Linked DNA regions of Homo sapiens: regions 1, 3 and 4 are each linked to region 2. The links are contacts of gene promoters, found by promoter capture Hi-C in blood cells and fetal thymus (Javierre and others, 2016). All regions are on one chromosome and are shown on one strand. The core of a region is centred on a gene start or on the middle of the fragment in contact, and the rest is flanking DNA. Distances in the headings are between cores, read along the strand shown.

Region 1 (3,178 bases), core at 214-2,713, 120 kb after region 2:
CCAAACCCACCCTGTTCCCCAAAAACCACAGCATACTGGGCAGACAGGGCCCCTGGCCAGTCTAGTCTGTGACCTGGGTTGGGATGTGCTGGCTGCTGTGACCCTGATAAGAGGAGGGGGCCCAGAGCCCTCACTGATCTCTGTTTGCTTGTCCTGGACTTTGTCTCACAGAGCAGCTTCTGGGAAGAGTTTATTGTCCTTAGGCCACGGTCACCTTCTGGCCTGTCTTCTGGCCTTTGTAGAAGAGAAGCTGGATCGACATGACAGTGTACATTTGAAGTTCTGCTTATTTCCTGCACCAGTATCGACCAAGCCCTGCAGTGTGTTGGGCACAATGCCAGGCACTGAGAGGCCACCATACAGAAACCTGAGTGCCCTGCTGTGTTCAGTGAGCTGATGTCAGGGGAAAAGGGAATCAGACAAGTCAAAGGGAGCCCACTGAATCCCAAGGAGTGATGAGAAGCTGAAGAGATAGAAATTTGGAGGGGCAGAGGCTCATCTCCTGCAGGGATTAGGAGAAGGTTCCTGGATGAGGTGCCTGGAAAAAAGAGCAGTGCTTGGGAAGGGGAAGGCGGGAAGGGAGGGAGAGAAAAGCAGACGGGCAGGTGGGATGTATGCTGTGGGAAGGTAGAGGTGTCTGGGATGGGAGCAGGAGCTGATGAAGAGGGTAGGGAAGGTGGCTGGGAAGGGGGTTGGGACCAGCTGGCGCAGGGGTCTGAAAGTGATTAGCCTTTTGGGTGGGAGATACTTAAGATATTTTAAGCAAGGGTGTGATGAGTTCAAGACTGGGCTGTTGAGAGATGGCTAGCACCAAGCCTGGTCCATGTAAAGTGCTAGAAGCATGTTTGCACAGGGGGAGGGTGGACAGGAGATGGGGAGAGCTAACTATGACCTGTGCCTGTCATGCTTCTTAGCATCACGTCCGAATTCATTTACTGCTCACAACTCCCCACAAGAGACAGATATTATTGTTACTATTATCCTCATGGTACAGAGAAAGAGACGTTGGCCCACCATATGCATGTGGGAGGTGGGGGCCAGGGTGGACAGAAAGCAGCTATGGTTGCTGAGGATTGAGAATGGGGAGTGTAGCTGTGCTGCTGGTGCCGGTGGGACAGCACATGGGCCCAGACCTGCTCTGAGCGCCACCCACACACAGCCAACTGTCTGCTTGATGTGCCCACAGCCCCTCCATCTGGTATGTCCAAACTGAACTCCTGACCTTTGTCTCCTCCTCCCCACACCCCGTTACTAAGCCAGATCTTCCCCCTGTTGTCCACTCCAGTCAAGGCCACCGCCATCTAGTTGGCCATCCAAGCCAGAAGGCTGGGTGGCATCCTGGGTGCCTCAGTCTCCTTGACCACCTACCCCACCTCCCACCCTCTGAATATCCCTCTAATCCATTAACTTCTCTCCCCATCCCCCGTCACCACCTAGTTCAAGCTGCCCTCATCCCTCATTTAGACGGCTCATCTCCTCCTTCTGCTCTGCTCCAGGCAGCAGCCAGAGTCACCATTTAGAAAGGTCAGTCTGCCGCAGGCCTTTCCCTGTCTCGCACACCCTATCCTGAGTGGTATGGCCCCTGCTGACCCCTCTATGTCACCTAGCCCATGGCCCCTCTGAGTCTCTCAGCTTCAACTGCAGAGACTTCTTTTAGATCCAGGTAGGCAGGTGCTTCTCCATTCATTCATTCAGCAAGCGGCAATTCCTTCATTTATACCTGCTGGGTTTAGGGTGTTGAAGCAGACAGGCCTGGCCTCGTCCTCAGGGAGTTCACATTGCGGTGTGGAGGTAAAGTCACAAAATGAATCCACTGGATCTTAGCACATGTTGCTCCTCTGCCTGAAAAAGTTTTTGTTTAAACTTCCACTCATGCGGTGCTTGCTTGGGGCAACCTCTCCTGGATGGCCAGGCTGGGCCTGGCGGCTTTTCTGAACAGTACTGACCTCAGTTGGCAAGGGTAGCTTGTTAGTATGCATGGCCGTCTCCCTCTTCGACAGTAAGCCCCACATGGGCAGGCCCTTGTCTGTCTTGTTCATAGTTGTCCTCCAGGTCCAGGCTAGTAGACCCTTGCTAAATGTCTGTAGAATGAATGATAGGTTTTTTTTTTTTTTTTTTTTTTTAGAAGGAGTATTGCTCTGTCGCCCAGGCTGGAGTGCAGTGACATGATCTTGGCCCAATGCAATCTCCGCCTCCCGGGTTCACGTGATTCTCATGCCTCGGCCTCCTGAGTAGCTGGGATTACAGGAGCAGTGTGCCATAATTTTTTATTGTGGTAAAATATACAAAACATAAAATTTATTATTTAACCATTTTTAAGAATACAGTTCGGTGGCATAAGTACATTCATGTTTTGCATCCATCACCACCATCCATCTCCAGGACTTTTTCATTTTCCCCAGCTAAAACTCTGCACCCATTAAACACCAACCACCAATTCCCTCCTCTCTCCAACAACTGGCAACCACCATTCTACTTTCTGAATCTATGACTTTGACTACTACAGGTACCTCACATAAGCGAAATCATACTTTTGTCCTCTGTGACTGCCTTATTTTGTTTAGCATAATGTCCTCAGGGGTCGTCCATGTTGTAGCATGTCAGAACATCCTTCCTTTTTAAAAATTTATTTATTTTGAGACAGAGTCTCACTCTGTCACTCAGCTGGAGTGCAGTGGCAGGATCATGGCTCACTGCAGCCTCAACCTCCGAGGCTCAACTGATTCTCCCACCTCAGCCTCCCAGGTAGCTGGGACTACAGGCATGCGCCACCACACCCAGCTAATTTTAAAAATTTTTTGTAGAGAAGGGGGTCTCACTGTGTTTCGTAGGCTGGTCTCAAGTGATCCTCCCACCTTGGCCTCTCAAAGTGCTGGGATTAGGTGTGAGTCATAGTGTGTGGCCTCTAGAGCACTAACTTTAAAAAGCTACAATTACAAATCCTTCCTCTGTCCCTCTGAGATATATACCTATGTATTTCCTACAACCTAGGAATGTCTTTCTCAAGGACCTGAAATCCATTCCTTTGGAATGTAATCATCATAAAGGTAGGGCTCATGTCTCCCAGTCTATGTGGGAGAATAGAATCCTAACTTCCCTAATTGCCAGCTAGCAGACACAGTTGGCCTAATCACATTTACGCTAAGCACTCCTTTTAATTTTTCACTTCCCAGACTCT
Region 2 (2,932 bases), core at 64-2,563:
TTAATATTCCTGTTCACCAAGAAAGCTTTTAGCTAGCATATAACCCTCTTAGGTAATTGGAATTTGGGGGGCTATTTAATAGGAAACTTTTTCCTAGAGATGATATTTACCGTTGAAAACACGTAGCTCAGTATCAACTGGACTTACACCATATGTTCACTGACATTCTGCAGCAGGAAGGTCAGCGGCTCTAGAGCACCAACAAGAAGGTATCCAGAGAGAGCCCAGATTGGGCTGGGAGAATGGGTGAGTGTCAACTGGACTTACACCATGTGTTCACTGACATTCTGCAGCAGGAAGGTCAGCGGCTCTAGAGCACCAACAAGAAGGTATCCAGAGAGAGCCCAGATTGGGCTGGGAGAATGGGTGAGTGTCAACTGGACTTACACCATGTGTTCACTGACATTCTGCAGCAGGAAGGTCAGCGGCTCTAGAGCACCAACAAGAAGGTATCCAGAGAGAGCCCAGATTGGGCTGGGAGAATGGGTGAGAGAATGGGGACTCAGGGTCTTGTTAAAGGCAGAGCACAGGTTCTGAGAAGTTGGAAAGGGTTAGATGGGAGTGTGTGTGTGCAGGGGGATGTTGGAGCCTGGAAAATACCAACCATTTGTCTTTTACACTCTAAAGGTAGTTGTGCTCCCCAAGTGAATAAGGTGGGACATGTGCACGTCAGGTTTTCAGTGTGAAACCTGGTATATTTCCAAATGAAAGTGATTGGATTCAGGTGACCATTTAAATTATGTCTATGAAAAAAGAAAATAGACTTGGGGCCTTGATAAGCCTTTAGCTAGGGAAGTAGGAAAAAGACTCAAATGTCTGGGTTGGAGGGAAGACTCCTGTACTCAGTCTCAGATTGTTTTCCTTATTCACTTGCTTCAGAATAATCCAGGCTGCAAACTATTGGGACCCACCCCAGAACTACTGAATCACGATCTCTGAGGGTGGAATTCAGGAATGATGATAATTTCTCCAGGATATAGGGATTTTCCTTAGAGGGAAAAATAATTTGACCACAGGCCGTCCCAGCTCCTACCTCCGGACCTGGAGCTCGTGATTCCCAGGCTCTCATTCCGGTCTGCGGTGGCCGGCTCACCTGGCCTGTCTACCTGCGGGCGTGGCGGGGTTGGAGAGGGGAGCGGGACCCGCGACCCCGCCCCGTGGCCCGGCCGGAGCCCCGCCCCTCGGGGGCGGGTGGGGAGAGCTGCCGCGGCCGAGGCCCGCCCCAACCTTGGCTGCGCCAATCAGGCACTGCGATCTCAGACGTCGGGTTACGCGCGGCGCGGAGTCGGCGGCCGGGCGGAGGTACCGGCTCAGGCTTGGGATCCCGGCTGCGGGTTTGGCGGCGCTGCGCCGGCAGGCAGCGAGGCCGGGCGGGCCCTGGGCCCTCGCGCCCCTCCCGCGAGGCCTGTCATGCAGGGCCCCGCCGGGAACGCGAGCCGGGGACTGCCAGGCGGGCCGCCCTCCACAGTCGCGTCCGGGGCGGGCCGCTGCGAGAGCGGCGCGCTCATGCACAGCTTCGGCATCTTCCTGCAGGGGCTGCTCGGCGTCGTGGCCTTCAGCACGTTAATGCGTGAGTCTGGGACCCCCCGACCCTCCGGAGGCCCTGCGCGGCAGCCGCGGCCCGGCCCCCCTGGGGGCCCCTCCTGCGCGGAGAGTTCAGGCCTTGGGACCCGAATTGCTCCTCCCCCGCAAACCCAGGCTGGGTATTCCTGCACTAGGGGTAGCCCGAGCCCCTCACCTACTCGCTGTGGCCTCCAGACAGGAGTGACCCTTCCCCTTTCCACCTTAAACGTCTGTCTTTTGAGACGCCAGTCTAAAACTCGCCTACCTCCCACCTTACCATCTCGAATTGTTACCCCACTTCCCAGCCTGGAATCATGACCCCCAAGGGTGACATCCCCTTGTCCGCCCCTTCTCAGGGGCTCTTCGTGCTTAGAACCCACATCCCTCAATCCCCAGTGCGATGCTGAGCTCTTTTCTGCCCCTTCACTCTTCAAGGATCTGCCTTCTCCGTTCACATTTAAATCCTGCTACTTTGCATCCCTCTCAACACCTGGAGTGTTAGGGCCATGCCTTCCGTTTCCCAGTACCCGCCTCCCTCTCCGTGGCCCTTCTTCCTCAGCTTTAGTTTCCCTTTTGTCAGGGTAGGACCCACCCAGTCTGCCTTCTTCCCCAGATCCCCTTCCTCTCGTTTCTTCCGGAACAGGCCCACCTGTTCCATCTCTGTCCCAAGCTTTCCTAATAAGCCGCATCTATAGCTTCCCCTGGCTGTTCCCTTTCCACTTTTATTCTTTATATTTTAAGTTTCCTTTTCCATTAAACTTGGGCACCTTAGTGGCTGAATAGAGAAGGAAGCCCCCACCCTGTTCTCATGTGTGCTGATGGGGGGTGGGGGGGGGCTTCTGTTTTTCATCGTGTGCATCCTTCCCTTATTAAAGTAACAAGAAGTTTTGCTCGACATGTAAGCCTAGGAGTGCCCTTGTGACTGCGTTTTAGGGGGAAGGAAAGGTTATAACTATCTGTGCAGAGTCATTAATTCCAAAAATGACTTGTTCTCAAAACTTCCCCACTGTGCTTGTGTGGACAGAGTGGAGAGTTCCTGCAGAAAGTATGCTTTGGGGTACTCAGGAGGGATCTTGCAGCTGTGTGCCTTTGTCTTGTGGGGTCCAGTTGCTGGAGTGGCCACCTTGCTTGTTTATAACTTGGGGTTTCTTTGAGTGAATTCTCTCAGGCTTTAAGTAACCCTGAAGAGGCTCTGATCATGGATACCGCGTTCTTCTGGTGGCCTGTCCTTGATAAGTCTTATAAGTGCCCAACTGTCTATGTTTGCCACTTTTTCTTTCCTTTTTAGTCCCAACTTGCCTTGCTTTTTCTCTGCTAAACAAATACCCACTTGTTCCCACAGTAATAATTTGTGACAACTTAGCCAAAA
Region 3 (3,114 bases), core at 124-2,623, 87 kb before region 2:
TCCCAGGCCTTCACATTCACTCACCACTGACTGACTCACCCAGAACAACTTCCCAGTCCTGCAAGCTCCATTCATGATAAGTGCCCTATATAAGTGTTCCATTTTTTATCTTTTTTTTTTTTTTTTTCCTGAGACGGAGTCTCACTCTGTCTCCCAGGCTGAAGTGTAGTGGCATGATCTCAGCTCACTGCAACCTCCACCTCCCAGGTTCAAGCAATTCTCCTGCCTCAGCCTCCTGAGTAGCTGGGACTACAGGCGCCCACTACCACACCGAGCTAATTTTTGTATTTTTAGTAGAGACGGGGTTTCACCATGTTGGCCAGGCTGGTCTCAAACTCTTCACCTCAAATGATCTGCCCACCTTGGCCTCCCAAAGTGCTGGGATTACAGGCGTGAGCCACCTCGCCTGGCCTCATTTTTTATCTTTTATGATATATTTTGACTACACCTTTCCTATGTTTAAATATGTTTAGATACACAAATACTTACCATTGTGTTACAGTTGCCTACAGGTTTGTAGCCTAGGGGCAATAGGCTACACCGTATAGCCTAGGTGTATAGTAGGCCGCACCATCTAGGTTTGCGTAAGTATACCCTATGATGTTCGAATAATGACAAAATTGCCAAACAACAAATTTCTCAGAACATATCCTCATTATTAAGCGATGCATGACTGTGTATGAACTGACATGTTAACTTTTCCTCATCTGTAAAATGGAATTATCATTGTATGAGTTAAGCAGAATAGGATTAAATAAAAGATTATTAAAAAATAATAAACACTTAAATATTAAGCTTACCATGTGTTGGACAGTGTTCTGTGTGCCTAATTATTTAGTATACAATACATAAAAAGTGCCAGGCACATACATAGTAGGTACTCAAATAATCTTTTCTTTTTTCTTGATAAATGGTTAACAAGCATTTGTTCTGTTGAGATGAAGTTTCTGATCTGTGACTTGACATGAGAAAGCTGAGAAACAGCAACCATGAAATTACAGAATAATTTCAAGTCTTTTCATAACTGAACATGGTCTTTTCCTATAATCTTTTTATAATACTATTGGAATTGGTATGTTTTGACAGTGCTTGTGTTGGTGAATCAAATAGCTCCTGATTTAATCAGAACAAAGACATACTGTTTCAACATGTGCTCATGTTACTGGCTCCCATAAATAAAGCATTTAATTGATGAAAATGTAATCATATTTGAACTCTGGAAGAGCTACCGTTCCAGCCTATAAGATAATATAAGGATAAAGAATGATTTTAAATGCTTTTGACATATTCTGGTACAGTGAAAGATAATTTCAAAACTGCAATTTAGTCGTCTTGGTATCTGGCAAAGAGGAGGTGCTCAATATCCTGGTACTAATCAGTAATTGCTAAGGAAGCCGGGCTGCGAAGTGGTCATACTTAGCCAACTGTGGACCAGGGATTTATAGGGTGGTCAGCCTGATATTTCCAAACTCATTATAGTATGAATCATTATAGTATGAATAGACACACACACACACACACACACACACACACACACACACACACAGTATTTAGTATAGTATTCAGTATATATTATAATAATATATATTACCTATATTCAATATAGTATTCATTATAGTATGAATTTTTAAAGATTATTTATGCCTGAGATTATTGAAAGACATACATTAAAGAAAGCTAGAAAATTTGTCATTGAAGTGCCTGTATTGGAAAGTATGTGGGTGTTGAAATTGGAATGTTAAAAAACAAGGCAGCATAAATTACTGAATTGCTATGGGGAAATGCCTTCAAGGCTGATTGGTAAACCTAGAGAACGTGAAATGTAAGATGGGATTGAAGCCAACAAGGAGGTTCCCAAGGGGCAAAAAAAAAAAGAATTGGCCCCATTCTTGCTGTCTAAAAAAGTTTTTTATGATGTTCAAATGAAGCATCGTGGGTGAAAAAAAGCTTATAAATTGGAGACACTACACAGATAGTAATTATACTTTTGTTGATTGAAAACATTTTCCTGAAAACTCCAAGAACAAACCTTTAGTGGTGAGGGAAGTAATCATATTGCCCTATTTTGCACTGAAGCTCATCATAATTTTTCTTCCTCAAACCATTCCTACTTCAGACTTCCCTTTTTCCATAAGTGGCAGTTCTATCCTTCCAGTTGCTTAAGCCAGAAACTTCAGTCAGCCCAGATACTGCTCTTTCTCTCATACACCAAATCCATCTTACATCTTCCTCCACATTTTCACTTCTCCTGTCCTAGACCTAGCCACCAACACCTTTCACTTGGATTATTCTGTGGTCTTTTTAGTTGGTCTTCCTGCTTCTGCTCTTGCTTTCTTCTCACATAGCTGCAGAGTGATCCTTTTAAAAGATAAATCAAATTATGTTCCTCCTCTGCTCAGAATCCTTCAATGGCTTCCCCAAAGCCAAAATCTTCACAGCAGCCTGCAAGTTCATATAAAATATGACTCCCTGATAGCTTCCTGAGTTCATCTCCTAGCATCTCTGCTGTGATCATTTTGTTCCAACCACTGTGGCCTCAAATACGCCACACAAGCTCCCACTTCAGAGACTTTGCTCTTTTTGTTTTTCTGCCTTGAATATTCTTCCGCACGTACCCACATGGCTCACTTCCTCATTTCCCTCTGGTGTTGTTTTGTGTTACCTCAACACTAAGGCTTTGATCACTCTGTTAAAAGTAGGACTCCCTGTCCTCCTCCCTTGTTCAGTTTTTTTCTCCTAACATTTGTTTTCATTCAACATACATATTATAGTTGACCCTTGAACAACACAGGGGTGTTGACCCCACACGCAGTTGAAGATTTGCATATAACTTTTGACTTCTCAAAAACTTTACTAATAGCCTACTGTTGACCAGAAGCCTTACCACAATAACATAAGCAGTCAATCAACACGTATTTTATATGTTATATATTACATACTGTTTTCTTACAATAGAGTAAGCTGGAGAAAAAATGTTACAAAGAAAATCATAAGGAAGAGAAAATATATTAATATTGACTCTTCACTGAGTGGAAGTGGATCATCATAAAGGTCTTCATCCTTGTCATCTTCACGTTGGGTAGGCTGAGGAGGAGTAAGAGGAGAGGTTGGTGT
Region 4 (2,725 bases), core at 209-2,708, 120 kb before region 2:
TGGGAGACTACACTTCTGATCTGATTAGCCTATAAACCCCCAAGAGGGTAGGGATTTTGTTTTGCTCACTATTTCATCCCTGGATCCTGGAACAGTACCTAGCAGGTAGTAGGAATTCAAGAAATACCTGTTGAGTGAATTAATAAAAGAACTGCCAAATAAAAAATAAGTGTCACTATACTAGTGGACCTGGAGAGTAAAGTGACTGCAACATCCTCAAAATGAAAATATTTCCTGTTTTATCCAGAGATCACATTCTTACCTAAAGTAGTATGGTGTGCAGAAATATTATGGGCACTAGATTAGACAGGCATGGATCCCATCTTTATCTTCTAACAGCTTGGGTGTGTTTCTTAGCCTTAGTTTCATTTTCTTTAAGATGGGACTAGTAATAATGTACTTTGCAGAATTACTGTATATTTGTATACTGTATATAAAGTACTCAGCATAGTAGCATAGTAGATCCTCAACAAAAGGAGGATCTCATTCGTTCCTATTTTTCTTAGTGGTTATATAAGTCTAGACACTGGAGACGAATCTAGTTAACAATAATCAGTTTTACAGATGGGAAAAATAAAAAGGAAATTGGATCTTTCCAATGTGAATCAAAATAGAAATTTCCAATGTGAAAGGCAAAACAATAAGCGAAGATCTTTGTGGTTTCAGAATGGGGAAGAATTTCTTAAAATAAGAGGCAAAAAGCACTAACTGTAAAGGAAAGGGTTGATAAATATGACTACATTAAAATTAAAACCATTATCAACAGACGACATAAAGAGAGTGAAAAAATGAGCCACAGAATGGGAGAATAAATAATCACATAGAACTGTCAGAATATGTGAGGAATTCCTTCAAATCAATAAATAAGGAAGACAGCCCAGTAGGAAAATGACTTGAGAAGGCACTTCTCAAAAGAGGGAATCCAGTGGTCAGTAAACATAAGAAAAGGCATTGTCTCACTTTAATTGGGGGATGCAAATTAAAACACGGGGATATGTCATTACACACTCACTAGATTTGCAGGAATTTTAAAACCCACTGTCACTGAGTACGTAGAGCCACTGGAGCTGTTATTCACGCTTGTGGTATGTGTGTTGATACAACCACATTGGGAAGGTTGGACATTGATTGTATGCTTTGAAAGTTGGATATATGTTCACCCTGACCTCAGCTAGATTGACATGTCTTTGGCTTGAGGCAATCTCTGGAGGTTCGCACCGCAATCCATGATCAAGACTATGATGGTAAGTGTTATTAGAGCTCAGAGAGTGTAGTAGTGTCTGGTGTGCTGAGCTGGACCAAGCAAATTCCTCCTGCTTTGGAGTTAGAGGTGTAAGCTTAAAGTTCTGGGTTTTGTTTTTTTTTTTCACTTTGTCCTTTAATTTATTAATGATTATTTTCTAAATGTTAGAAATTCCTAACTTTATTTTCTTTTACTGCTAAAAGTAGGGTGCTAGAAAGACAGTATTCTAAATCAAAGAAAAACCATAGTATACTGTTCTTGATGAAATAAGTCTTCCCTACTGCAGGCCTTGCTGTGTGAAGAAGAAAAATGAGAAGCAAACAATTGTAAGCTTTTTCTTATTTAAAAAATAAGAGGAAAATCACCTACTTAAAGTATACAATTCATTGGTTTTCAGTATATTTACAGGGTAGTGTAACCATCATGATAATCTAATTTTAGAACATTTTCATTATTCCAGAAAAAAAACCTTGTACCCATTAGCAGTTATGCCCTTTCCCTGCTTTTTCAGCCTAAGGCAACCACTAATTTACTTTCTGTCTCTCTAGATTTGCCTATGGTGGACATTTTGTGTAAATGATATCATATAATATGTGGTCTTTTGGACCTGGTGTTAATTTAGCATAAAGTTTTTGAAGTTCATCCATATTGTGTGTGTATCAGTATTTCATTTGTTTTTATTACCAGATAATAGTCTACTATATGGCTATGTCACATCTTATTTATCTACTCATCAGTTGATGAACATTTGGGTTGTTTGTACATTTTGGCTGTTGTCAGTAATGCTGCTGTGAACATTGCTATACAAGTTTTTGTGTGAACATTTGTTTTCATTTCTCTTGGGTATATACCTAGGAGTGGAATTGCTGGGTCTATGGTAACTCTTATGTTTAACTTTTTGAAGAACTGCCAAACTGTTTTTTCAAATTGCCTATACCATTTTACCTTCTGGTTTCTCCACATCCTTGACAGCACTTGTTATTCTCTATTTTTTTTTTATGATAACCATTCTTGTAGCTTTAATTGGGGTATTGCCAATTAAAATACAATGATTTTTTTTTTTTTTCCTTGGGACAGGGTCTCTCTCACCTGTCACCCAGGCTGGAGTGCAGTGGCATGATCTTGGCTCACTGCAACCTCTGCCTCCTGAGTTCAAATGATCCTTCCACTCAGCCTCCTCAGTAGCTGTGACTACAGGCGTACACCACCATGCCCAGCTAAGTTTTGTAGAGACGAGGTTTCACCATGTTACCCAGGCTGGCCTCCCACTCCTGGGCTCAAGCGATCTGCTGTGCCAGCCTCCCAAAGTGCTGGGATTACAGGCATGAGCCACTGCTCCCGGTCCTATTACTTTTTATATAACTCAAACATGATTCTGGCTTTTTAAATGACATTTGTTGAGGGAGGTTGCTTTATGCTTTCATTTTGGGGGTCCTCCAGATTCATAGTTTCTCTCTGCTGTATTAACATTTATGCTGGCTG

The links. The method cuts DNA at HindIII sites, captures the fragments that hold promoters and counts their contacts. A CHiCAGO score of 5 or more calls a contact.
Region 1: a contact is called between a fragment that was not itself captured here and the fragment with the promoter of STIMATE in region 2, in 2 of 17 cell types (M0 macrophages and total B cells). The highest score is 5.3, in M0 macrophages.
Region 3: a fragment that was not itself captured here is called in contact with the fragment with the promoter of STIMATE in region 2 in 1 of 17 cell types (M2 macrophages); the score reaches 5.3 in M2 macrophages.
Region 4: a fragment that was not itself captured here is called in contact with the fragment with the promoter of STIMATE in region 2 in 1 of 17 cell types (total B cells); the score reaches 5.1 in total B cells.

What each region holds. Positions count from the first base shown.
Region 1 is chr3:52,772,572-52,775,749 of GRCh38, reverse strand. No RefSeq gene overlaps it. Among named protein-coding and RNA genes, the nearest start is that of NEK4, 3.2 kb to the right of the region's middle. The HindIII fragment of the contact is 6,310 bases long and covers 1-3,178 here.
Region 2 is chr3:52,895,929-52,898,860 of GRCh38, reverse strand. It overlaps STIMATE (STIM activating enhancer), which reads left to right and starts at 1,313. Exons shown (of 8, transcript NM_198563.5): 1 at 1,313-1,570. The coding sequence starts at 1,411. STIMATE-MUSTN1 (STIMATE-MUSTN1 readthrough) reads left to right here and starts at 1,313. Exons shown (of 10, transcript NM_001198974.3): 1 at 1,313-1,570. The coding sequence starts at 1,411. RefSeq lists a silencer at 1,051-1,760. The HindIII fragment of the contact is 2,208 bases long and covers 28-2,235 here.
Region 3 is chr3:52,983,159-52,986,272 of GRCh38, reverse strand. The region is part of intron 1 of SFMBT1 (Scm like with four mbt domains 1); the gene reads left to right. Among named protein-coding and RNA genes, the nearest start is that of SFMBT1, 61 kb to the left of the region's middle. The HindIII fragment of the contact is 1,152 bases long and covers 798-1,949 here.
Region 4 is chr3:53,014,800-53,017,524 of GRCh38, reverse strand. The region is part of intron 1 of SFMBT1 (Scm like with four mbt domains 1); the gene reads left to right. Among named protein-coding and RNA genes, the nearest start is that of SFMBT1, 30 kb to the left of the region's middle. The HindIII fragment of the contact is 237 bases long and covers 1,340-1,576 here.